2 separate regions of the Homo sapiens genome follow, and region 2 is linked to region 1. Evidence: promoter capture Hi-C in human tissues and cell types (Jung and others, 2019). All regions are on one chromosome and are shown on one strand. The core of a region is centred on a gene start or on the middle of the fragment in contact, and the rest is flanking DNA. Distances in the headings are between cores, read along the strand shown.

Region 1 (3,958 bases), core at 954-3,453:
CCTGCCTCAGCCTCCTGTGTAGCTGGGATTACAGGCATATGGGAGACATTTCTTTTTCTTTTTCTTTTTTTCTTGTTTTTTTTGAGACGGAGTCTTGCTCTGTCACCCAGGCTGGAGTGCAGTGGCACGATCTCGGCTTACAGCAAGCTCTGCCTCCTGGGTTCACACCATTCTCCTGCCTCAGCCTCCTGAGTAGCTGGGACTCCAGGCGCCCACCACCACACCCAGCTAATTTTTTTTTTTTGTATTTTTAGTAGAGACGGGGTTTCACGGTGCTAGCCAGGATGGTCTTGATCTCCTGACCTCGTGATCCACCCGCCTCGGACTCCCAAAGTGCTGGGATTACAGGCGTGAGCCACTGTGCCCAGCCGCATATGGCCAGACATTTCTATGAGACATTGTTCATCAGGCCTAGACCCTGAGTCCCCATTAAATGGTGTTTCTATGGCAAATTAGGGACATATGTAGAATAGAACTGCTTATCCCTGCTGATCTGTGGCTGCAGGGAGTCACAAGTTTGCAGTCTTGTTACATTCAGATACTTAAGAGTTAAAAAATAACTGGTGGCTTTTGCCTCCTTTATCCCTGATGTCAAATAAAATGGAATTCCAACCAATAGCTTTTCCACATTGATCTTTTTTCAATGAGTTTTTCTAATTTGTTTGAATTTCCTGGTGTCAAATAAGGTAAAAGCCATGGTTGAAAGCTTGCCAATACTGACTGCATTCATAGTGTTCTCCAGTATGAGTCCTCTTACGTTCAATAATATGAGAACAACTCCTGAATGCTCTTCCACGCAAATTACATGTATGGGGTTTTCCTCAGTATGAGTCCTCTGATGTCACATCATAAGGGCTAGGCTACGTCTGAAGCCTTTCCCACGATGACTGTATCCATCACTTTGCTCTCCAGTGTGTCTTCTGTGATTTTTGAGTAGTGGAGGAGCAAAGTGTAAAACCTTTCCCTGAATGATTCCCTTCATAAGGTGTCTCTATAGATTCTTAGCTATAGGGTAAAAGTGTTCACTTCTTTAGAAGAATTTCCTAAATTCACTGCAAATATATAATTTCCCACAAGTATAAATTGTCTCATATTGAATAAGGTATAATTTGTGTCTACAGCCTTTGCTACAGCGATTACATTTATAGTATTGTTCTCCTGTATAAGTTCTGAAACATACTGAAAGAAATATTTCTTAATAAAGACTCTCCAACACTCAACACATTTGTAAGGTCTATTTCCTGAGAGAGTTTGCTCATACATCAGTGGGGTTGAGCTCTGTTTAAAGACTTCTTTACACATACTACATTTATATGGTCTCTCTCCAGTATGACTTCTCTGATGTCAGAAAGTATTTACCATAAACAGGGATTTCTCACATTCAGAACATCTGGAGGGTTTGTCAACTGTGTGAGTGCTCTCAAAACAAAGATGAGAGGAGCTCTGAATACACTTTTCCACATTCCTTACATTCAACTCAACTCTCTCTAACATGAATTCGCTTACATTGACTGAGACTTGTGCTACACTTAAAAAATTTACTACGTATATTTCATATATAAGGCTTTTCTACACTGAACTGTTTGCAAGTCTAAGAAGTTGAGTGTTTTGACCAAAAGCATTCCCAAAATCATAATTTTCAGGGGTTTTTCCCTGTGCATTTATGGTTTATTAAATCTGAATGTTGTTTTACAATGAGTCATGTATGTAGTGGTATTCATTGATAAGAATATTGTTTAGTGGGCCAGGCACGGTGGCTCACGCCTGTAGTCCCAACATTTTGAGAGGCCAACGTGGGTGGATCACAAGGTCAGGAGTTCAAGACCAGCCTGGCCAAGATGGCGACACCCCTGTCTCTACTAAAAATACAAAAATTAGCCAGGTGTGGTGGCGGGTGCCTGAATCCCAGCTACTTGAGAGGCCGAGGCAGAGAATTGCTTGAACCCAGGAGGTGAAGGTCGCAGTGAGCCAAGATCATGCCATTGCACTCCAGCCTGGGTGACAGAATGAGACTCTGTCTCAAAAAACAAAAACAAGGCCAGGCGCGGTGGCTCATGCCTGTAATGGCAGCACTTTGGGAGGCCAAGGAGGGTGGATCATGAGGTCAGGAGATCGAGACCATCCTGACTAACACGGTGAAACCCCGTCTCTACTAAAAATACAAAAAATTAGCTGGGTGTGGTGGCGCGCGCTTGTAGTCCCAGCTACTCTGGAAGCTGAGGCAGGAGAATGGCATGAACCCGGGAGGCAGAGCTCGCAGTGACCTGAGATCCTGCCACTGCACTCCAGCCTGGGTGACAGAGCAAGACTCTGTCTCAAAAACAAAACAAAACAAAACAAAAAAGAATATTGTTTAGTGGAAGAAGGCTTGAATTCTACTTAACATTAGCTGTGCATTTCTTATTCTTGCAACCTCATTCCTGAATCAGTGTTCCTCAAGCATCATTTGTTTGACTCATCTCTCCTGGTCCTCCTTCTGCTTCTCTAAGTGGACCTTACAGTCCTGGTTTCTTCCAAATGTGAAGAAATGAAGCTCATTCTTTGTGAATCTTTCCACTTTCAGGATGGCATTTTTGTTGTTGTTGTTTTTATTTTGTTTTGTTTTGTTTTGAGACGGAGTCGTCCTCTGTCACCCAGGCTGGAGGGCAGTGGCGCAGTCTCGGCTTACTGCAACCTCTGCCTCCTGGGTTCAAACAATTCTCCTGCCTTAGCCTCCCAGGTAGCTGGGATTACAGGTACACGCCACCATGCCCAGCCAATTTTTGTATTTTTTTTTTAGTAGAGACGGGGTTTCACCGTGTTGGCCAAGCTGGTCTCAAACTCCTGACCTTGTGATCCACCCACCTCAGTCTCCCAAAGTGCTCGGATTTCAGGCATGAGCCACCACGCCTGGCCTGGCATATGGTTTTCAGACAAATGTCTTCCTTCCTGGTTATCTCTTTGCTTTTGATGATAGTTTCACAATCCAAAAAAAAAAAAAAACCAGATACATTTGTACATCCCCTACAGTTGTTCACTGAATAAATTATGGCTTGTTCAATCAATTAAAAAACCATAATTTTAAGAGCTGGAGAGAAAATGCTGGTATTAAGCACATCGAAAGCATGTTGATTTGTTTCCAAATCTGTCTTGCCAGGAGCGACTGAGCAAATAAGAATAAGCCCAGTCTCTCCAGGTGGCTGATAGGAAAATAGATCAATCTCTGCTAGTAGTCATTTCTCACTCTCTTTTCTTTTTCTTTCTTTCTTTTTTTTTTTTTTTCTTTTGAGACGGAGTCTCGCTCTGTCGCCCAGGCTGGAGTGCAGTGGCACGATCTTGGCTCACTGCAAGCTCTGCCTCCTGGGTTCACGCCATTCTCCTGCCTCAGCCTCCTGAGTAGCTGGGACTACAGGCGCCCGCCACCATGCCCAGCTAATTTTTTGTATTTTTAGTAGAGACGGGATTTCACCATGTTAGCCAGGATGGTCTCGATCTCCCAACCTCGTGATCCACCAGCCTCAGCGTCCCAAAGTGCTGGGATTACAGGCGTGAGCCACCGCGCCCAGTCTCCTCACGCTGTTTTCAAGATGCTCTTCTGGACCCCAGTGCTTTGGGGGCTTGTCCTGAGCCCTCTTCTCTCATCCACCAGTATGGTCTGTTTTATTCTGCTGGCTTCAAACACCATCTGAACATTGATGAATCACAATTTGTAGCTTCATTCCAGATTCTTTTCTGAGCATGGACATATTTCACCATATTCATACTGCCTGCTGGGAGTGTCTATTCATTTTACAACCATACCTTGTCAGTACTGAGTTCTACTCTCATGCTCTACCTCCTCTTCTCCCAGGTTTCTCCTGTCCATGGATTGCATCACAGTTGCTCATGCCAGTAGCCATGGACCCTTCCACTTCCATTTTGAATCAATCACCAAATTCTGAGCCCACCTTAAACATACATTGAAATGATCCCCTTTTTA
Region 2 (3,958 bases), core at 405-2,904, 530 kb after region 1:
GCTCCTGAGGAAAAGGAGAAACAGAGAGCCTAGTCCAGGGCACAAGGGTGAGTATGAGGGCCTTACCCAGGGAGGACGTAAGTGCAAAGTTCTCCAGCATCACATCGAAGTACAGGTGTTTCTGAGCCTCATCAAGGAGATCCCATTCCTCCCAGGAGAAGTACACGGCCACATCTTCAAAGGTCACACTTCCCTAGCATAATAGGGATTGATGAAACCATGAACAGTCTCAATTTGGAAGACTCAAAATCCATGTCCCCATACATTCTCCTCCCAAGATCCCCAAGTCAGAAGAGACACCAGACCTTGGTGTCATTGATCCCTGCTGTCTCTTCACATTCCCATTAGTCACTGTGTTCATTCTGTTTTCCACTCTGTATCCTGTCAACACTTGGGTTAGATAAATCTCCCTCCTCTGATCCCAAACTCCAACTTCCTCACAATAGATGCCAAACTTCACAGAAATAAAGGAAACCTGCAGTTCCCTGAACCAGCTCAGCCTCACCTCCAAGGAGTTCCAAAAGCTGGTACCTACCTGTTTCTATCATAAATTTTCACCCATCTTTCCATTGGCTGCTCCAAATGGAAACATTGGCCTGGACTCAGGGCCCTTAGCTCAGGGATTCTCCAGGGTTCCCAAACCAAACGCTGAGAGAATGGTAGGTGAGTCCCATGACACCACAAATCTAAAGAAAATATCTGTCTGGGGAGGGTGGAGGGACATTCCAGACCAGTGAGGGGCTGAGATACCTCCACTTACCTGTGTAAGTTTGAAAAGCACCTCTGTAGCTATGGGAACCTGTGGAAAGACGCAGGCCTCAGAGGAATGTGATCATGGCAGTGCTCCATGGGCACAGGCCTTCCCTGTACCCTTGCCCCGGCCCAGAGCCACGTAACTTTGGGTCGACTGTCTAACCTGTGCGCCTCGGTCCTTAGTGCTGCCTCTCACCAGTTGTGTGGCCTTGGAAAAATATTCAACCTCCCTCTGCCTCAACGTCCTCATCCATCTCTAAAGTCTTTTCTTCCACTGAACAGCCTGCAGAGGATTTTTCAAATTTAACTCAGATGGTGTCTCTCGTTTGCGCAAGCTCTCTATGGCTCCCACGGCCCTAAGAATAAAGGTAGATCTCTCTCAAACTTTGTTCCCTGCAGTAACAATGTGGAGCCCAGGTTCCTGAATGCCCCCTTCTCGGTTGCCCGTCCAAGCCCTGCACGCGCCGGTCCTGTCCCTTGTCCCCCTGCCCACCACATCGGATGTCAGAAATAGGGGCCCCACCCACGAGCCTCAGTGTCCCCGACCCTGTGCTACAGAGACGTGAGCTGGTGCCTCTCACTTGGGACTTAAGAATCTCGGCCGGGGGAGGCCCGGAGATCGCAGCGCTCACCGAAGCCGGGTCCCTCAGTGCGGTCGCCATCCGAGTCTGTGGGCGGAGCTGGACCGGGAGCTGCGGGCGACCCGGGGGGAACCCGAGCATCGCTATCCCCAGGCCGGCCTCGCGGGCGGCTCTGCCCCCGACCCTCAGACCTGACTCTCGCGCCTTCACGGTCCGTCACTTCGATCCCGATGCAGCGTACCAAAGCGGCTGACAGACAGAACGGACCTCCGGGAGGGCAGCCAAAATGACCGCTGCGAAGACGCCACAAGTCCCGCCCTGGGGGGGGCGGGGGTAGACCCACACGGAAATGCCCCTGTCTTGGATTTTCATTGGATCAAAGTACTGCCGCTCGACGCAAGGCTTTCTGGGTAATGTAGTCTCCCCCAGGCTGCGACGGAGGGCGCCTTGTGTGCAGACAGCTGGGAGCGCTAGGAAGCTGCGTCTGCTGCCTTCCAGGGCGACTGAGGGGCTTCGGTGTTTGAGGTCTTAAGTAGGTTGACACTTGAACAACACAGGTTTGAGCTGTGCGGGTCCATTTACACGTAGGCGTTTTTTTTCCCCAATAAACGTTACTTCGAGTGTGCTCCTTTTCCTGCCTCTTCCAGCTCCCCGACCTCTTGCCCCAGAGACAGCAAGACCTCATTCTCTTGCCCAGCATGAAGAACACAAGGATGAAGACCTTTATGATGATCCACTTCCACTTAATGATTAGTAAATGTATTTTCCCTTCCGTATTCTTTTATTTTCCTTTTTTTAATTGGGTGTAATGTCAACGAGCCTCTTACAATTTTCCTGATACCCTTTCTCTGGTCTGTTTTAGTACAAGTATAGTTCTTATACTAAAATATATATAATGCATATATCATACAAAATGCATATATCATATATATTATGCATATATCATGCATATATCATACAAAATGTGTTAATCGACTGGGAGTTTATGTAATTCATAAGGCTTCCGGGCAACTTCATAAGGCTTCCGGGCAACAGTTGGCTATTAGTAGTTAAGACCTAGGGGAGTCAAAAGTAATACAAGCATTTTCAATTCCGCAGGGGTCGGTATCCCTGACCCCTGCGTCGTTTAAGGGTCAGCTGTATATCAGTCTCTAGTGTAGAGGTTCACTTCAGTATTTAGACATCATTTCAGATTCCATGCAGCCCACCCCAGCAGATCTCCACTGGTAGTGGGAAGCGAAAAAACGTTATCTTATTGCTCTTCAAATGCATGCAGCCTGAAGTGTTAAAGTCACTTTTTGTAGGTTTTGTCAGGGACAAAAGACACCAGACAGGGCTACAATGGGAAGATAGTGGAGGGATAGTGGGCAGCCCTGAAGCCAACGGACAAGGGAAGTTCCCTGCTTCTGGTGCCCCCAGAAAACGCTCTCCTGCCTGCAAAGTCAGTTTTGTTCATAAAACATGAAGCTTTAATACATGAATGTTCATTTTCCTTGTATAATCAAAACATTTAATTTTTTTTTGAGACAGGGTCTCACTCTGTTGTCCAGGCTGGAGTACAGTGGAACAATCATAGCTCATTGCAGCCTCCACTTCCTGGGCTCAAGTGATCCTCCCACCTCAGCCTCTTGAGTAGCTGGCACTACAAGCACACCACCACACCCGGCTAGTTAAAAAAAAAATTATTGTAGGAATGGAGTCTCCCTATAGGGCCCAGGCTAGTCTCAAACTCCTAGGGCCATGCAATCTTCTTGCCTCAGCCTCCCAAACTGCTGAGATTACAAGCATGAGTCACCATGCCCAGACAAAAGTTTTTAATGCATAAAATATCAAATTATTATCATTATTTTAAACAGGGCCTCACTCCGTCGCCCAGAAAGTTTATATTATTTTAAGGTACATATATGCACATTGTTAAATGTACACATATACATTTTATATATATTAGATAGATCAAATTTTACGTTTCACAATAAAAATGATCCTTTAGGACAAATTAATACCAGTAAAATAAAATAAAATTAAAAGTTGTGAAATGATTTTATCAAATATATAATGTATTTGTTTACACATTTACTACAAAAATTTATAAGTGGAATGACTACTATTGTACATCTGGTTAGATCTCACAATGGGCTTGTCATTGTTTTTAGGAAAAAGGTTAGAGTTCTTGGCTGGGCCTATATTACAGAACCAACCATTACATATTGCTTCACCTCCTACCATGTATCTCCTCTATATCCTACACATGCTGAATTTCCTCAGATCCCTGAAAGCTGTGTGTGCATTCACATGCAGGGATCTTTCCAGGTTACCTTTTTCCTACCTGAGACTGCTGAATCCTATTGTGCTTTAAAAATTCATACTTTCAGGTAATCAACTGAGAAACTAGTGAAAAATGACATAACTGGCTGGGCACAGTGGCTCACACCTGTAATCCCAGCAGGTGTGATTGCTGCTCCCACCTTGGGAGGCCGAGGTGGGCGAATCACCTAAGGTCAGGAGTTCAAGACCAGCCTGGCCAACATGGTGAAACCCCGTCTCCATTAAAAATTCCAAAATTAGTCGGGCGTGGTGGTGGCACCTGTAATCCCAGTTACTCGGGAGGCCGAGGCAGGAGAATC

What was found. Contacts are between HindIII fragments. The study calls those that stand out against the background at their distance.
Region 2: the fragment with the promoter of ZNF211 here is called in contact with a fragment that was not itself captured in region 1 in 1 of the 25 tissues and cell types used here (dorsolateral prefrontal cortex).

What each region holds. Positions count from the first base shown.
Region 1 is chr19:58,163,778-58,167,735 of GRCh38, reverse strand. All of the region lies in intron 1 of LOC124904784 (a long non-coding RNA gene), which reads right to left. Among named protein-coding and RNA genes, the nearest start is that of ZNF329, 15 kb to the right of the region's middle. The HindIII fragment of the contact is 6,997 bases long and covers 1-3,958 here.
Region 2 is chr19:57,630,864-57,634,821 of GRCh38, reverse strand. It overlaps ZNF211 (zinc finger protein 211), which reads right to left and starts at 1,654. Exons shown (of 4, transcript NM_006385.5): 1 at 1,386-1,654; 2 at 761-799; 3 at 67-193. The coding sequence starts at 1,475. RefSeq lists a silencer at 1,335-1,404 and enhancers at 1,845-1,894, 1,965-2,054. The HindIII fragment of the contact is 12,794 bases long and covers 647-3,958 here.